6 separate regions of the Homo sapiens genome follow, and all the other regions are linked to region 4. The links are contacts of gene promoters, found by promoter capture Hi-C in blood cells and fetal thymus (Javierre and others, 2016). All regions are on one chromosome and are shown on one strand. Each heading gives the region's core, a stretch centred on a gene start or on the middle of the fragment in contact. The rest is flanking DNA. Distances are from core to core; before and after follow the strand shown. Region 1 overlaps DCDC2 (doublecortin domain containing 2). Region 2 overlaps DCDC2 (doublecortin domain containing 2). Region 3 has its middle 4.4 kb from the start of MRS2. Region 4 holds the start of SOX4 (SRY-box transcription factor 4). Region 5 overlaps DCDC2 (doublecortin domain containing 2). Region 6 holds the start of ALDH5A1 (aldehyde dehydrogenase 5 family member A1).

What was found. Contacts are between HindIII fragments. The CHiCAGO score rates a contact against its expected background, and 5 or more counts as called.
Region 1: a fragment that was not itself captured here is called in contact with the fragment with the promoter of SOX4 in region 4 in 1 of 17 cell types (M0 macrophages); the score reaches 5.2 in M0 macrophages.
Region 2: a contact is called between a fragment that was not itself captured here and the fragment with the promoter of SOX4 in region 4, in 1 of 17 cell types (M0 macrophages). The highest score is 6.4, in M0 macrophages.
Region 3: a fragment that was not itself captured here is called in contact with the fragment with the promoter of SOX4 in region 4 in 1 of 17 cell types (M0 macrophages); the score reaches 5.1 in M0 macrophages.
Region 5: a contact is called between a fragment that was not itself captured here and the fragment with the promoter of SOX4 in region 4, in 1 of 17 cell types (M0 macrophages). The highest score is 6.6, in M0 macrophages.
Region 6: a contact is called between the fragment with the promoter of ALDH5A1 here and the fragment with the promoter of SOX4 in region 4, in 1 of 17 cell types (M0 macrophages). The highest score is 5.3, in M0 macrophages.

The regions. Positions count from the first base shown.
Region 1 is chr6:24,268,676-24,271,442 of GRCh38, reverse strand. All of the region lies in intron 7 of DCDC2 (doublecortin domain containing 2), which reads left to right. Among named protein-coding and RNA genes, the nearest start is that of KAAG1, 87 kb to the left of the region's middle. The HindIII fragment of the contact is 285 bases long and covers 1,116-1,400 here.
Region 2 is chr6:24,213,583-24,216,478 of GRCh38, reverse strand. All of the region lies in intron 7 of DCDC2 (doublecortin domain containing 2), which reads left to right. Among named protein-coding and RNA genes, the nearest start is that of NRSN1, 89 kb to the right of the region's middle. The HindIII fragment of the contact is 2,965 bases long and covers 1-2,752 here.
Region 3 is chr6:24,396,988-24,400,171 of GRCh38, reverse strand. No RefSeq gene overlaps it. Among named protein-coding and RNA genes, the nearest start is that of MRS2, 4.4 kb to the left of the region's middle. RefSeq lists an enhancer at 1-279. The HindIII fragment of the contact is 2,174 bases long and covers 236-2,409 here.
Region 4 is chr6:21,592,252-21,595,079 of GRCh38, reverse strand. It overlaps SOX4 (SRY-box transcription factor 4), which reads right to left and starts at 1,329. Exons shown (of 1, transcript NM_003107.3): 1 at 1-1,329. The coding sequence starts at 545. RefSeq lists a silencer at 539-718. The HindIII fragment of the contact is 853 bases long and covers 903-1,755 here.
Region 5 is chr6:24,194,988-24,197,899 of GRCh38, reverse strand. The region is part of intron 8 of DCDC2 (doublecortin domain containing 2); the gene reads left to right. Among named protein-coding and RNA genes, the nearest start is that of NRSN1, 70 kb to the right of the region's middle. The HindIII fragment of the contact is 2,572 bases long and covers 1-2,560 here.
Region 6 is chr6:24,493,336-24,496,517 of GRCh38, reverse strand. ALDH5A1 (aldehyde dehydrogenase 5 family member A1) reads right to left here and starts at 1,549. Exons shown (of 10, transcript NM_001080.3): 1 at 1,168-1,549. The coding sequence starts at 1,521. It also overlaps a transcript of GPLD1 not described here. RefSeq lists a silencer at 1,154-1,543. The HindIII fragment of the contact is 3,166 bases long and covers 1-2,540 here.

The DNA of each region.
Region 1 (2,767 bases), core at 9-2,508, 2.7 Mb before region 4:
TGTCACATCTTTATTTCTTCCCCAGCTCCAGAGTTTGGCTTGCCTGCCTCCCTTTTCATAGATGCTACCCATTACTTCTAAGCAGGGCCTCTTTGCTTCTTGCCTTACCAGGGGCTCTGACAAGTTTCACAGCCTTTTCTTAATTCTGCTGCCTGCAAGGTCAGGTTGAACCTTTCTCTTTTTTTCTTTTTTTTCTTTCTTTCTCTCTCTCTCTCTCTTTTTTTTTTTTTTTTTTGAGGGAGTGTCTCACTCTGTCACCCAGGCTGGAGTACAGTGGCACCATCTTGGCTCACTGCAGCCTTGACCTCCTGGGCTCAAGTGATCCTCCCACGTAGCTGGGACTACAGGCAGGTGCCACCACACAAGGCTAATTTTTGTATTTTTATAGAGACGGGGTTTCACCATGTTGCCCAGGCTGGTCTCAAACTCCTAAGCTCAAGTGATCTGCCTGCCTTGGCCTCCCAATGTGCTGGGATTACAGGTGTAAGCCACTGTGCCCTGCCAGGTCTGAACCTTTCTGTAGCTTACTACAGATAAAATATGCATCCGCCCCAGTGGTGAGTTTCTGGCATACCAAAGACTGAAGCATGATTTATCTGCTTTTCTGAAAGAAGCTGAAATTGGGTCACTCTGAGCATTTCATCCTGGAATCTGAGGAAGGGCCACATGGGGGCTTGGTTAGGGAGGTGTCTGATGTCATGAATGTTGGTGAGATGCCTATCATAGAGGGTGACAGGGTGGAGGGAGGAGGAAGATGTAGCCATAGGGTTTATTACCCTTTCTCCCTCTTCAACTCCCTGTTTTCCTTGTCAGGCCTGGGGTGATATAAAACCTGGAAAGGGCCCGGTCCTTTAGAATATCAGCAGATCCTGGACCATAGGTCACATGTAAAGGACACAGATAAATGTTCAGAGCATTCCGCACAGAGTAGTCAGCACAGGGTCAGTATTTGTTGATATATATGTGTGTGTGTGCATGTAGGTCAATTATACCTATATTATGGTGACAATTGAAATTAAAGGCTGCAAACTGTAAGCATTGAGTAATGGCACACTCCTGATACCCATGCTTTAGAACATCTTGATGGTGCATTCTAATCTGATATTTTGTAAGCTTCATTTACAAATACTTAGAATGGATAAACAGCATTTTCCTAGCTTAGTGAATGAGGGGGAAAAGAGGAGAAACCAGTTTGCCCAGAGTCAAAGATCTATCAATGGTTAGTGATTTCTGGAAATTGCCAGACTGACACATAGCTGCTGGTTAAGAGGTGGATGTGCCTGTGTGACTGTTTGAAAGGGGAGGTGGAGGGACAAGTGAGGGAAGCTCTCGTGTGTGTGTTTTGACCTGTCTTCCTTCAGTGATAAAAATGTTGATGTATCACAGCAGACCCTGAAGCTTAGCTGGGAGATTTTGGGGAGTTCCTGTTTGTTTCTTCTTCTACTCTCCACTATTTCATATTAACTTTTTAAATGGGGATGATTGATTTTCATCCCTTCTATTTTCTAGGTGGTCGGAGTTAGTCATTACTAACAAGCCGTTTTTCTCTTTAGCAGTCTGATGTAATAATGGGTCTTCTCTATTTTGACACATCTTAGCTGGGGACTGCCTTCAGCATTTAGACCCTCTTTTCTAGGGTTTAGGGACCTTGAAGAAGGTAGATATTTTGGGGGCTGACCTCTAGTTTCTGTATCAAATGATCAAATCCCCTTTTTTAAAACAGTTACTTAAACATTCTAGGACTTAAGCTCTGCAACCCAAGCCTTTCTCTGTGTCTGAATTTCCTTCCCCATGTTTCATGACTTTCTAGACTTAGGAACCCCATCCCCTTTCCTAGGTCACTACTTTCATTTTTCAGTGAACATTTATTGAGTCCCTACCATGTACTCCACCCCTTGCTAATCACCAGAGTATTTCATTTTCTCTTCTTTGTTCTAATTGCTCAGTACTTACACATTTTCTTCCAATAGTCATAATTATATCTTTATCAATAAATTTTCCTTGGTTAAGTAGATGCAATTTACCTTTTCCCTTTCAATGACCAGACTTTATTCACTATCCCTAAATGCCAAATTATGTTGCAAGCATTGACATTTTTTCCTTCTGGGTATTGAGTCATTTCTTAGACCTCTGTATTAATTTTGTCCTTATAGAAAGTACCAGCACACTACTAAAGAACATAGGCCATTTCTACTTAAATGTATTTAGTCCAATGTCTGGGACAATTACTAAATACTGCTTGGCACTATGAGACAGGGAAGGAGTATTTCCTCACTTATGTGATACCCTGGGACTCCTTTGTAGTCTGTGGCCTATTTTGTATATGAACTCTATTTTTATTCTTCTCTATTGCCCTAGTTATTTTCAAAATAAGATATAACCTTTATTGCAAATCACCATGCAGTGTGCTATCACAGTGGAGATAAAGATAAAATATCTGTAAAATACCTTTGAGCTTTGTAGGTTTAAAGCTACCCATTTATTCTTATTTTATACAATTGGATGATAATACCAAATTGTTTCTTTGAAACTGGGCAAGATTTTATTTCCTTTAAAATTACATAATAAAGTGGCCTGGCACAGTGGCTCATGCCTGTAATCCCAGCACTTTGGGAGGCCGAGATGGGTGGATCACCTGAGGTCGGGGGTTCAAGACCAGCCTGGCCAGCATGGTGAAACCCTGTCTCTACTAAAAATACAAAAATTAGCCGGGCATAGTGTCGCATGCCTGTAGTCTCAGCTACTTGGGAGGCTAAGGCATGAGAAT
Region 2 (2,896 bases), core at 21-2,520, 2.6 Mb before region 4:
TCTGATTTTCATACTGTACTATAATTACTGTTACTTAGGTGACCAGATCAAGGGGATCCCCAAATGGCGGGACACTTTAATACTGATTATTCCTTTGGTGTTGACTTCCACTTTCCCGCATCTTCCTTGACAGCCTACTCTTTTTTTTTTCCTGTTACCTTTTACTATTTCTTTTCGATCTTTGTGAGTTTCTCTTCTGCCCATCCCTTAAATGTTGTTTCCTAGAACTCTGTCCCTAACCATTTTCTATTTTCACCCCAAGTTCTGAAACCCATGACTTTATCAATGGTATTCTGACTGTTCCCAAGTCTACATCTTTATCTTGGAACTTTATTCTAATTAACAGACTTACATTTCTAGCCACTTGCTGGACATTTCTATCAGTATGCTTAACAGGAGGCCCAAACCAATATATCAAAATCAGACCCCATCACCTCCTTTCTAACCACCCCCATCCCCTTCCTTCTGTCGTCTGGCCAGTCTTGATGAATAACACTGTTAACGATGTAGACAACCAAGCCATAAACCTGAGAGTCCTTCTTCAGCTCTTCTGTTTCCCTCAACTCTCACATCCTGGCAGTCACGGAGTCCTGCCAATACAAGTATTCAATGTCTCTTGTTGCATTCTGTTAATCCTGGCATTGCCTTCATCCAGGACCTGCGGTGTGCAGAGCAGTGCTGAGATTCCACCAAGCAGTGCCGCCCCCTCAGCCGGGAGTGGTGCTGATGCAGACTCCTATGCTTCGGAGCGTCCTGACCCATCATGGCATGCTTTGTTTCCCATTTCATTGCTTTGAAATCTCCTGGCTACCAGCCTCACTGATCTCCAATTTTAATATGTATTGCCTTTGGTGGCTTCAGTCTGACCCAGTTTCAGGCATTCTTTTCTACAGTCTTGCCTGGTCTCACTCTGCCATGATATCTCCACCTCAGCAATATCAGTCCTAGGTGGCTGTGGGTGATAACACTTTCCATGATCTCCCCCTCCACACAGCCTGTCATGAATCTTCACCTGCTTCTGTCCAGGCAACTCTGTTTCCAGGACGCTCCCTCAGCCCCATGCACCCCACTCCATGCTTAAAGTCCCTTAGTTGCTCTTCATTATCTTCATGATCAAGTTCAAATTCTTGGTCACATCAGACAGCCTTATACCCAGCCACTCCTTATCCCTACAGCCTTGCTGCAGCCACACGGATCTGCCTGCAGTTCTTGGAATACAACCTGCAATGCCTCCAAGCCTTTGCATATGCTGATTCTTCTGTCCAGAGTGCCTTCCTTTGCTCCTTAATGACTAATTTGTCTTGTCTTTTGATTTGTAGCTTCCGTCTCTCACAGCCTTCTTTGTTCTCCTCTCCCCATTTTTTTTCTTTCCTACTTTATGCACTGTCTTAACAGCTTACATAGACTTGCATGCTATGCGTATTCTGTGCAGTTGATTTTTCCATGTGACCCCCCGGTAGATAATACGTATCCTGAGGTCAGTGCCTTGTTCATCTTTCTGTGGCTGGTGTCTAGCACATGTGGGAGCATGAGGAAGCTCAGTAAACATTGCATAATAAGGAAGTAGTGAACACAGAATTTTAAAGGAATTTAAAACAGTACTATGTGTTTTTGTTACAGGCAGATACTTCATTTGTTATGATGATAAATCTAGCGTATAGAAGTATGGCTAACTCTTCTGATACAAGGTCATTTGGAGGAAGTTGGACTAACCAGAATTAAGAAGAGAAATTGTCAATTTTAGGCCAAATAAGTAACTGCAAGTCACTGGGGTGGAAAAAGGAACAATTCAATTATTCTGATGAACTAAAACTAATTTGCAGTGTAATTTTTATAAGGATGCAAAATTAGAAATGAAGAATTAAAGCTATATATACACTTGTTGGTTTAGGTAAACCTACTCAGAGGTACTTAATTATTTTCAGTCCCACTTATCAGATATAGACTTTAGAAATTGTATCATAATTTATATAGGTTAGGAAATAAGCATTATTATACATATTGTAAATAATGTGCTTTATTCTTTGTACTCTGAATATTTCTGATTTTCATGAGAATCTGAAATATCTGTATCTAAAAATAACAGAAGTGTAGGAATAAGAACAAAATTACCTGTGATCTGGGAAATCAATGATAATAATCCTACTTTTGTTTTCTGTCTACACTTAGAATATTTTGCTACACCTATTTAAAGTTAAGGTTAAATAACTGTGGTGATTAAAATCAATTCTATGCAAACAGTTAATAGTCAAATGTATACATCAATTGCATAACAGATGAGATTTAATACCCTGAAATGGGAGTTGGAGAATAGAAAGAAGCCAAATATTTCAAACTACAGTTAAGAATACTTAGCCCATATAAATGTGCGGATAAAATTATTTTTATGTGTTATTAAAAATTGCCAGAGAAAAATATGACTTGTGATATTCTTGTTTCTGTAAAGAGCTTCCATTTGAGCTGATGGGACATAATAAGACATGTGGAGAAGATTAGTGATTAAAAAAATTTGGACATTTGGGTTGTATCATTGTATTCAATTAGAGGCACTCAGAACATTAGCTCTCATTTGATTAGTTTTTCAGTCTTCCTTATGATGATTTTTTTATATTTAATCCAGAAAGGTGATGCAAAGAGGGGTATTATATAAGTTGTGACAGGGATCCCAGGAGAGTTGGCTAATACCCTTTCATAAGGAAGTGTTATTACATGTGAACCTGCCCTTCCTCTCTACCTCATTACTTGCTAAGCTTCATAAAGACCCTATCCTACTGGGTCACCTTTCTGGAAATGCTTTCTTTAATTTTCAACAAGATGCTGTGATGACAACAATCTATATCTGTAAAAAGTTGTATAAAAATTCAATATATTTCACATGTGAATGTAGTTCACATCA
Region 3 (3,184 bases), core at 73-2,572, 2.8 Mb before region 4:
GCGCCAGTCCCCCGGGCCCATTTTTCTTTCTCTATACTTTGTCTGTGTGTCTCTTTCTTTTCCAAGTCTCTCATTCTACCTGATGAGAAATGCCCACAGGTGTGGAGGGGCAGCCCAACCCTTCAGATAATTGAAGGCAAAGAAAAACTTTAATCATTGCTTCCAGGGCGTTGAAGTCTGGAAAATCGCTGAGTATAGAGAACATGGCTGGTAGATTTTTCATTTTACTAAAGCTTTAATGATGAGATAAGTATTTCAAACATATTACATGCCTTCAGAGATGCTTCTTTGAGAAAATATGTGATAACTTTCTCTTTAAAACAAAATTTGCACCCAGCACAATGAGACAGCTCTAAGATAACTTTTGCAAAGTCTAAGGAAAACTCTGGAACCTGTCCAGACGTACAGCCTCGTAATTCGTGGCAAAGATTTTTCTGAGAAGGGTGGGAACCATTGGAGGACTTCGAGCAGAGAGGTAATGAGCAGAGGTAACAATCTGATTTATGTTTAAATGGGTCACTCTTGCTGTGTGGGAAAGAGACTACAGAGAGGCAATTGGAAGCAGAGAGATGGTGATGATGGTTTGGGCTAAGGTGGGGATGGTGGAGAGGGGAAGATGAGTTGGGCTTGGTACCATATATTGAAGGCTGAGTTGACAACATTTGCAGATGGGATATAAGAGAAAGAGAGGCATAGATGTTGCTCCAAAATGTGTATCCCGAACAGCAGGGCCTTGCTGGTGCTATTTACTGAGATAGGGAATTTTGGAAAGGAGCAGTTTTTTTTTTGTTTGTTTTGTTTTTTGTGACGAAGTCTCGCTCTGTCGCCCAGACTGGAGTGCAGTGGTGTGATCTCTGCTCACTGCAAGCTCCGCCTCCCGGGTTCACGCCATTCTCCTGCCTCAGCCTCCCAAGTAGCTGGGACTACAGGCGCCTGACACCACGCCCAGCTAATTTTTTGTATTTTTAGCAGAGATGGGGTTTCACCGTGTTAGCCAGGATGGTCTCGATCTCCTGACCTTGTGATCCACCCGCATTGGCCTCCCAAAGTGCTGGGATTACAGGCGTGAGCCACCATGCCTGGCCAGAAAGGAGAAGTTTTTAATTGAAAACTGTGGCTCAAACCTGTAATCCCAGCACTTTGGGAAGCCAAGGTGTGCGGATCACCTGAGGTTGGGAGATCGAGACCAGCCTGACCAACGTGGAGAAACCCCATCTCTACTAAAAATACGAAATTAGCTGGCTGTGGCGGTGCATGTCTGTAATCCCAGCTACTGAGGGGGCCGAGGCAGGAGAATCACTTGAACCCGGAGGTGGAGGGTGCGGTGAGCCAAGATCGCACTATTGCACTCCAGCCTGGGCAACAAGAGTGAAACTCCCGTCTCAACAACAACAACAAGAACAACAACAAAAACAAGAACAACAAAAACTATGGCATGGCATTTGGTTTTGAATGTTAACTTCGAGAGATGTCCTAGACAGATATCTGAGTGTAGATGTCAAGTAAGCAGCCTGGAATTCAGGGAAGGTGTTGGAGATAGATAGTTACATTTGAGACTGTATAGAATATTTAAAGCCACAAGATTGGAAGAGATCTCCCAAGAAGGCCGAGCACAGTGGTTCACCCCTGTAATCCTAGCACTTTGGGAGTCCGAGGCTGGTGGATCACCTGAGGTCTGGAGTTTGAAACCAGCCTGGCTAACGTGGCGAAACCCCGTCTCTACTAAAAATATAAAAATTATTGGGGTATGGTGGCAGGCGCCTATAATCCTGGCTACTCGGGAGGCTGAGGCAGGAGAATCGCTTGAACCCGGGGGGCAGAGGTTGCAGTGGGCCAAGATTGCCCCACTTCACTCCAGCCTGGGGGAAAGCAAAACTCCATCTCAAAAAAAAAAAAAAGTCTCCCAAGAAGTGAGTCAGAGAAAAAGTCATCATACAATTGAGCTCTAGATCCTCTCATATTGAATTGTTAAGAAGATGAGATAGATCCAGCAGAAGAGTATGAGGAGTGACAAAGAAAGAAATAGAATCAGAGGGTGGAATCCTAGAAGCCAAGTAAAGAAAGTTATTTAGTTGGGGTTCAGAAACTGCTACCCCAAAATATGTTTTGACATGTTAAACTGAAGAAGCCTCAAGGTCTCGCTGGCACCACCCCCTGCCAACTGAGTCTTCCAAAGATGAAGTTAACGTTTTTTTTTAACCTAAGATCCAGACCCATTAAAAGAAACAACTGTCTCTTCTCCTCCCTGAAAAACCAAGAATGTAACCATGCTTGAACACACCCTTTGACAGGGTAATGTTCATGTTCATCTCTGTTCCCTGATCCATTCATTCTCCCTAGTAATCCCCTCAATAGAATTCCTCTTCTACTCCCTCCCATAGCCTATTTTGCCAGGGTGGTATATAAGCTTCTTAACCCTGTTGGAGGTTGTGTAATCACCCTGTGATTCTCCCTGTGTACACATTTATACAATTTGCCTTGTCTCCAATCAATCTGCCTTTTGTGGGTTGATTTTTTTAGCAAACTTTCAGTGGCTGAAGGGGAAGTTTCTCTTGGTCCCTACTGTTGCATGAATGAAGAAGTGATAAGTTATGTCAAAATTTTCTGATGGGTAAAATAAGAAATGAGAATTGTCTATATTGGACATGACACTATGGAACTTATTGGTGATCTTCATAGGAGCAGCTTTAATAGAGTAACAGGAAAAGGGACCTGTGAAACCACTTTGCAAAGATTATCACAGTAAGAGATATCTGATGTAGTTGACTCCATCTTGCTTCTGACCTCCAAGCTGTCCTTGGTTGTTCTTAGGTATAGGCCAAACTAACCATGGAGGAATTTGGTTTATAGCTTAACTTTGAAGCAAGGATAATAGTCCTACCCTAAAACTACCCCCTTCCTGCTTGTTTCGGGGCTGAAACCACCTTCATGAGACTAGTGAAAGGCCCAAGATTAGGATTATGGAAGGAGTCTGAGTTCTGCTAAAATGTGGGCATATGTTCTATAATCCCTTACTGTTCAGGAGTCGTGTGGCCAGAGATCACAAGATTTGTGCTTTCTCAATTGCTCCTATAGATAACATCATCACTGTAGAACCTAAGATTGGCCCTTTGAGATGTTTTTCAGACTGACCCCACTCAAATTCATGACTTATGACTCAGCCTGTCCTGTGGTTCCACCTAGA
Region 4 (2,828 bases), core at 80-2,579:
CCGCCTCCTCCCCCCGCGTTGCTGCTCCCGCCGCCGCCGCCGCCCCCATGGCCGCCCCCGCCACTGCCACCGACCTTGTCTCCCTTCTCCCCCGGCTTGGAGGAGGCGGCGGCCGAGGAGCTGGAGTTGGCGTTGCCGGACTTCACCTTCTTCCTGGGCCGGTACTTGTAGTCGGGGTAGTCAGCCATGTGCTTGAGGCGCAGCCGCTCCGCCTCTCGAATGAAAGGGATCTTGTCGCTGTCTTTGAGCAGCTTCCAGCGTTTGCCCAGCCGCTTGGAGATCTCGGCGTTGTGCATGTCGGGCGACTGCTCCATGATCTTGCGCCGCTCGATCTGCGACCACACCATGAAGGCGTTCATGGGTCGCTTGATGTGCCCACTCGGGGTCTTGCACCAGCTCGGGTCGTCGGCCTTGCCGCCCGTGGAGGCGGTGGAGCCGGGCGTGGGGGAGGAGGCGATTCCCAGCTCGAGGCCGGCGCCCGAGTCCGAGCTCTCGCCGGCCAGCAGCGCTTCCGTGTTCTCGGCATTGTTGGTTTGCTGCACCATGGCCTCGGCTCGGCGGGCGCCCACGCGCGCTCACACCCTCGCGGCGGCCGCCGCGCGATCGCCGGGCCCTCCCGGTTCCCCGGGCCAAGCACACGCCGAACGGGAAGACGCGCGCGGCGGCCGAACTGGCCCCTCAACTCCTCGCAGGGGCGGAGGTGGGTAAAGAGAGAAAAGTCCCCAAAAGATTTGGGGAAGGAGTTCTCCGCCTCTCGCAGAGGAGTTATAGTTCCCAGGCTGGAGAGTCTCTCTCTCCCTCTCTCTCGCTCTCTCACCGCGCTGCAGTTTGCTGTCTCTCGGCTGAGTCTGGAGACCGTGCTAAAGTAGAGAGGAGTTTCTCGAATGCTGGTTGCTGAAGCTTCCAATGCAAGTTTCTCGCGGCCTCCCAGGCAAGTCTTTTTTTTTTTTTTTTCTTTTTCCCTGAAGCAGTTGATTCCAGTTCACGAGCGCTCTCGGTAGCTCAGGAAAGCGACATAGTCTCTAGCACTTAGTCCCTCTCCTACAATGCAAAGCAAAAAAGACTGTGGCTCCAGGACTCTCTGTGGGCGGAATCGGCACTAAGGAGTTGGTGCAATTATTTTGTTGCAAGGTAGGAAGCCAAAAAGCCTGCATGCAACAGACTGGCATGAATAAATGTATGTTTCCCCCTCCCTTCTGCAAGAAGGGAGCTGGTAATGGCAGGAGTTCCTCCAGTGCAGACTCTTAAAGAGCGTGCAAGAACTAGAGACCCGACAGCGAAACAGGCCTCTTCCCCTCACACACAGTTTCTCTTGCTGCAGCTTAGAGCAGACCCCAATTCCGCCTCGCGCCTCTTTATCCTTTCACAGTCTTGGCTGCAGCCAATCAGCTGCTGTAACCAACGCTTCCTCATGCCAAACCCCTCCCCCGGGCTTCCCATTGGCTTGGAACCCGATGCAATAATAATCTCCGCGTGCAATGAGAAGCTCCAAATCTGACCTCATTCCAATTTACAGAGCAAACTTTTTAAAAGGGCTAGAAGTACAGCTGAGATTTCTGCTGCCTCTTTTTTCCTTTTGCTGTGTGTGTGCGCGCGCGTGTGTGTGCGCGCGTGCGTGTGTGTATAGTGTGTGAAGAGGATGTTAATGCATGAAATTATTAAGGGGAGAGACGGAAATGTATTCTAACCATTATGTTAGATAACAAGGGGCTTGGAACGGGGCGGGGTAAGGGTGAAATACTGTAAATGGAAGCTTTCTGCTTAAAAGCCAAGTGATTATTTTTATTAGTTCTTTTCAGCATTGGAATAAAGAATCAGCCTCTGGTGCAAAATCTGTTCCCCAGCTCTTTCTTAAAGCCAAAGCTGTAAAGGGGAAGAGAAAGCCACAAAACAATAAATCAATGGATATTGAAAACCATTAAGAAAGTGGTACCTAGACACCTGTCATCACAATTATTTTAACAACTCTAGGTACAGCACAGATGTTGATGTATTGTGTAAATCCCTTCAGAACCGTTTTTGTGCTGTTTGTGGAAGGCAGGGAAGAGGACTTTGCAATAATTGCTTACTCTCTTAACCAAGCAAGGGTCAACTATGGTTATTTAATGATTTAAACTCCCTGTAAATCCTGCATAGCCCAAACAGGGGAGCTTTCCCTTGAAACACATTAGGTAGTGCTCCGTAATTACCTCAATAGGCAGATTTCCAGAGTTTTGTATAGGATGTATAATGGCATGTAAAGGATGGAAATCGGTTTTACTTTCTAAATATTTGTTTTCCCTGTTTTCAAAATTAAAGATTGCTTCACTCTCTTCCCTCTCCTCCTCCCAAAGCCATCTTCCTCCTTTCCTTCTTATATATTTCCTCTTGTTACTTGAATCGAAGGGAACTGAAAAACCAAGGCAAAGAGAAACTGTAGAAGGAGGTGATAACTGGTAGCAGAAGAGAATGGGGCCTCCGGATTCATAGTAGACCTGGCTGCTAATCCTTCTTAATGGTTTGTAACTATGGGGATGTGGCCAAGTCTCAGTTTTCCTCATCTATTATATGGGAACACTAGGAGCTACTTTATAGAGGGTTGTTGTGAGGGTTCAATGAATTTGTGACTATGAAGCACCTGATGTATTGTAAGCCCTCAATGAATACTAATATCTTCCTTTCTAATTCAAATGCCAGACACACTCCTAGTAAAAGCTGCATGTTGTTCAAGAGGCTAAAACAGAATAGCCACTTATGTAAAAAAGTAATAACAGGCAGGACGCGGTGGCTCACGCCTGTAATCCCAGCACTTTGGGAGGCTAAGGTGGGTGGATCACTTCAGGTCAGGA
Region 5 (2,912 bases), core at 25-2,524, 2.6 Mb before region 4:
TAAGTGGAGGATTGGAGTTTAGGTGAGGAGGGGGAAATGATAATCCCAGACTCAGGAAAGGGGAGAAGTCACTAGGAACTACCACTTGTCCTCTGACTACTATATGATATTTTTTTTCTAAAAGCAGATTTCACCATCTGACAAATTCCATAGATGATCTTCTCAATTGTATTTGTCTTAACAGTGCAGCAGTGAAATTGCTGCTTGATGATTCCACAGGCATTTTCTGCAAGTGTCGTCTTCCTGATGAAAAGCCTAACGTGGTAAAAATCACGCAGATTTCAAAAATCCAATTTATTATCCAGGATTAGCTATAACTAATAATTTTTCATAAACTCCAGTTATAGGTATTTTTTCCTGAGGGAAAGTGAAACTTTAAGTCTTCTGTGAAGCCATAATTAAATAGTATATTTTAAGACAAAGAAGAGTGATCATCATGTATATACAACACCTGATAGCTGCAGAAACCAAGACTAATTTATATTCCAAAGTCAAAATGTCAAATATTAAGAGAAAATCATAGCCTTATTAGCAAAGGAGAAATCTCTCTGTTAATCACTTATTTAACAACTTGCAAATCTGTGAGATATTTCTTTACTTTGACATTCGATGATCCTCAGGAAGGGGAGTTGGGAGGGAAAATTGATCTCTGATAATGCTCGAACAGCCTTGGATGCATCTGCAGGGCTTGATTTCTTATTTAACTTGTGAGTGCTAGCTTATCAAAATGCAGGTATGCAGGAGATACTGAGAAACAGATTGGTAAAAGCTGGGCAATATCAACAAATTGGTATGTGCTTGAAGAAACCAAAGCCAGGTAACCAAAGGTACTTTCTTCTTGGACTCTCTTGGTCATAACATTGGGATTGCCTAGTTTATTTGTTCGATACGAGGTGCTTATGAAGTCAGGTTACAGCCATTCTCTATGGTCTGCTGACGTTTACATCCTAAGCAGCTATATTATAAATATGGAAAACTAAAAGTGTGGAGAAATTCGTTGAAAGCCCATTAGTTTCATTATAGTAAGACCAACTCTGCAACAGCCCACAATGGTGATCTGCATTAAACAATAGCTACCATTGATTAAGTAACTACTGAGTGCCAGGCACTGGACTAAGGATTTTTATTTCTTTCGTTTAATTATGAAAACAACCCTGTCAGATAGGTCTTATTGGAGCTGGGTGTGGTAGCTCATGCCTGTAATCCCAGCATTCTGGGAGGCTGAGGTGGTCTGGATCACCTAAAGTCAGGAGTGTTCGAGACCAGCCTGGCCAACACGGTGAAACCTGGTCTCTACTGAAAATACAAAAAATTAACCAGGTGTGGTGACAGGCACCTGTAATTCCAGATAATCGGGAGGCTGAGGCATGAGAACTGCTGGAATCTGGGAGGCGGAGGTTGCAGTGAGCAGAGATCATGCCACCTCACTGTAGTGTGGGTGACACAGCGAGACTCTGTCTCAAAAAAGAAACTGGATAAGTCTTATCAGTCTTATTCTATCTACCTACTTATCTATCTACCTATCTATAAATACACAAAGGAAGTGAGCTCATGAGGTGAAATTATTTGCTCAAGGCTGTACCATGTTAATTAGAGGAAATGGGACTTAAATGCTGTCTATCCAACTTAAAGGCAGACAAGTGATCTGAGGAGAGAGTATTGCATAAAAAAAAAAAGCCAATTATTAACCCAGAAAGGAAAAAAAAAATCCTAATTAAGAAAGGAAATATAGTCATGGTATACTACTTGTCTTAGCTAGAAAAGATACTTAAATACACTCTCTCTAAGGCCATTAGCTAGTTAATGTCTTTGGACTGTTTTCCTGTCATCTAAATGATCTGTGTTGTAATTTTAGTCAGAGGGCCTTGAAGAAGGAAGTTGTATGTGCCTGTGTGTGTGTATATGTCTATATGTAAGTATCTTGTGCAAATTGGCCAAGTTATTTATCCATTCTTGAGAAGCAGATTAAGTTTTAGAAGTCTTTGCTTTCATTGGGAGGCAATTCTCCATGGGTCTGTTGTGATTCTGCCCATCTTGTGAGCAGAGGCACTGCTGGCCTTTGTTCTGGACCATCTCTTTAGGTATGTTTGTATAGTGAATGGCCTTGGAAGACAGAGAGAGTGATGTCTTCCAGAACAATCATTCTCAACTTGTGGTGATTTTGCCTCCAAAGGGATATATGGTGATTTCTGGGACCACTTTTGGTGTAACAACTGGGGGAGTGCTATGGGCATCTAGAAGGTGGTGGCCAGGGCTGCTCCTAATTATCTTGTAATGCACATGACAGTCTTCACAACAAAAAATTCTGCAGCCCAGAATGTCAGTAGAGCTGAGATTGGGAAACTCTGTTCTGGGACAAAGGCTGGGTTTCTTTATTGTCCAGTATGATAAAGACAATGTCTCCCTATGGTGCAAAGGTCAGGCAAGTTTACTTCCCATTGTGAAAGATTTAATCCCATTGATTTGTACACTTAAGAGTGGTTAAAATGGTAAATTTTATGTAATATGTATTTTACTATAATAACAATATTTGAAAAAAAGAGTTTGGGTTCCCTAAGCTTGAGGTTCTTCTCCTAAAATGCAAACTAATGTGTGCATAACTAGCCCCCTTCTCATTGTGGGAATTGGGTCTTGGGTGCAAATGCTATTTTGGCTACTGCTATTGCGTGAGCAATAAAGTCCTTTGTCACTGACTCATTGGTCTCATGTTTCCTGCCAGCACCCATGAAACTGTGGCATGCTAACTTGTCTCTTGCTAGCAGAGTGCAGCTTCAGACCTTCCATAGTCCTTGATAGCCTCTCCTGGTACCATCTAGCATGCATGTTTGTGTGTGCACATACAGGGGTATTTGCATGTGTATGTTACGCATTGTGGACTAATTCCAGCTAAGAAAGAGTCTGAGCTCTGCCCC
Region 6 (3,182 bases), core at 300-2,799, 2.9 Mb before region 4:
GCGGTAAAATGAGAAATGTCTGTTGTTCAGGCCACCCAGTCTGTGGTACTTTGCTATGGCAGCCCTAGCAGAGGAATATGCCTGGTCACACTGTTGATGCTGCATCTTGCCCCTTCCCTCTGGCCCGGATCCTCTCCTGCTTCTACCTTTTTTCCATATTGCACTCAGCATCTCTCACATACTTATTTGCTTAGATATTATGTTTGTTGTTTAGAGTTCTGATCTCTCTTCTGCTCCCCTTCCACCCCATGTGAGCTCCATAAGGGCAGAATCCTTCTTTCGTTTAACTGAGGTATCCCAAGCACCTCCAACAGTGCAGGGCATACAGCAGGTGCTCAGTAAACAGCTGATGGATGAATGAGTGCTAAGACTCTCTTGTACTCGTAGGGATCGCTGGATGCATTCCTTCAGAGGGAGAGCTTTGAAGGACACGGTAAAAAATTTCACTGCGTTGACTCCAGGTTTAATAATATAATATTAGAAGGAAGAAACTACTTTCTTAGTTTTCTTCTTACTCTATTCTTCCCATTTAATGGCCCTCCACCCCTTACTCCCAATTCTCCAGTGTTCTCTATGCAATGGCCAATAGCAGCATTTATCCATTTAGGGTGAAAACCTGGAGAACGCTCCTGGATTTCTCTCTTCCCCTGCACAAAACCCAAATCTTTCTACAGTTCTCTCCGTTTCCGATCCCATGATTCTGGCCAGGGGCCCTCACTACCAGCCTTCTCAAGGGCCGCTGAAGCAGCCTCCTGCGTGGGCTCCCTGCAGCTGCGGAGATATTTCAGCTACTCTGAAGGGCCACACGTGCTCTCACTTCCCTGACACCCCTCCCCTTTCTCCCCGCCCCTCCACGGTTAGGCTTGTTGACCATAACAAGCAGCTCGCTTGTATTAGGCGCTCACGTTCTGCCTCCCCTACTGGGCAGTGCATAACTTGATGAGGCTTGAGGGCAGGGGTCGTGTCCCTAGTGCCCGGCTCAAAGTGGAAGCTCCAAACTTATTTGTCGGTCGTCTCCCTTGTTGCTCTGACTTTCCACTTTGTATACCCTGGGGAACTGAGCACAGGAGGGAGGCGACGCGGCTGGTGTCACTTTGGGGTAAAGCCCCCTCTGCTCCCCGCCGTGTCCCCGGCCAGCTCTGGCCCCCTGCATCCGGGCTCTCTCACCTTGGCGGAGACCTCCCTCCAGCGGCAGAAAGCCTCGTAGGCAGCGCGCACGGCGGCGCGGGCCTCTCGCACCCCGCAGTCGGCTACCATGCCCAGAGCGGCGCCGCTGGCCGGGTCTTGCACGGGGAAGGTGGCGGCGGCCGGGAGCCAGCGGCCGCCCACGAAGCTGTCGGTGCGCAGCAGCGCCGCAGAGAGGCCCGCCAGGCGCCCAGCGTAGCAGCGGAGCTGGGCCGGGCCGGGCGCAGGCCCGGAGGCAGGGACCAGGCCGCCGGCGCGGGGGCGGAGGCGGCAGCCTGGAAACGTCGACCCGAGGCGCCGGGCCCCACAGCTCCGCAGCCAAATGCAGGTCGCCATGGCCCGGGCAACGACGGCGACAGGAAACAGGCAAGCGGGCGCGCGCGCACGGGAACGCAGGGGTCGCGGGGAAGCAAGAGGAGCGAGGAGGCGCCGGGGACGCGCGGGGAAAGCGTGGGAGCTGGCGGAAGGTTGCAGAGCCACAGAGCAGCGCCCTCTCTCCGCGTCTTTCTCGCTGCACCGCCGCGCCGCCCTCTGCACCTTGCCCTAAGCGCCGCGCGGCTTCTCTCCTGGCGCGACCTTCTCCCGGGGGAGGGTTGGGTTCGGGGATGGAGAAGGCTCGCCAGTAGATGCACCTGCGGACTGCTGTCACCTTTTCACTTTTCGGGTGCTCATTTGTCACTAACTGCTCCTGAGCCCCCAATCGCTGCTAGAGACCCACTCTCTCCCCTTAGCATCCCCCAAATTCGGCATCCCCGGAATTTGTGCGCGGTCCATAGATGCGCTGGTGCCTGCCCTAAATGCCAAGGCCGTGATCACGCTTCTTCAGTTGTAGCTCCTGAGCACGTAGTATTGATTGGGAGCGATCGTTCTCTGAGGGGTCGAAGTGTGACCCCGCGTTCTGCTGCCTGGCTGCTTTTTTGGGTGTGTGTCTAGGCATTCTCCTAGGGTTGCTCCCGATAAATAACAGCGCTTTGGAAATAAACAGACTAGGATCCAAACTCAAGTCTGTTGCCGACAAGCTGTGTGACCGACAGGTTAACCTTAGTCCAGTCACTTATAAAATAGAACCATATCTACCCCATTTTGTTGTGAGATAACGTAAAATGCTCATTACAGTTGCCACATTAAATTCAATATAGCGTTCAAAGTCATACTAGCTACCCTAGTCAAGCCACTAGTAAGATTAAAGTTGGGTCACCAACTAGTAAATGGAAGCATTTGTCAAAATTGAATCAACCAAGGTATAAGGATTGAGCATACTATCCAACCAAGGTATTTGAGCACCTTTAAACAGCATTCTTCATCCGTTAAAAAATTAGACTTGGGCTTAAGACTCTGAAAGCAGCAGGGAAGCTTAAAACCTAATGAGGATAAAAATAAAAATAGCAGGCGTATGCTGGGAATTTGTGGGTGCAAATGAAGCCCAGCCCTATGCATTGATTTTAGGTTACATATCTCCCTTTCTCAACTCCTACAGCGTTGAGAGTATCTTGCTAGCTTTCACCTTTTTCTAGGACGTTGAATTTTTTTCTAGGACATTTGCAAAATGCCGAGGCAGTAACTTTAAATTTTGACTTTGTCTTTTGCTGAGTCAGATCCATTGAGTTTTGAGCCAGTCACATATGGCAGAAGTGATAACAGTAGAGTTTAATCAATTTCACACTATTTTGCTCTGTATTTTATTGCAGGAACTGGGGAGAACCAGGGAGTCCTAATAGGGATGTGGGCCAGTAGGTATCACAGGTGGGGCTGGGGAGCTGGCGTGTTTACATCTCCTGCCTGCGGAGGGAGTTTTTGTTTTTGTTTTGTTTTGTTTTTGGTGGTGGTTTTTGTTTTTTGTTTGTTTTGTTCTTGTGAGACCGACAGACTCATTCTGTCACCCAGGGTGGAGTGCAGTGGTGCGATTTCAGCTCCCTGCAACTTCCGCCTCCCGGGTTCAAGCGATTCTCCTGCCTCAGCCTCCCGAGTAGATGGGGCTACAGGTGTGTGCCACCAAG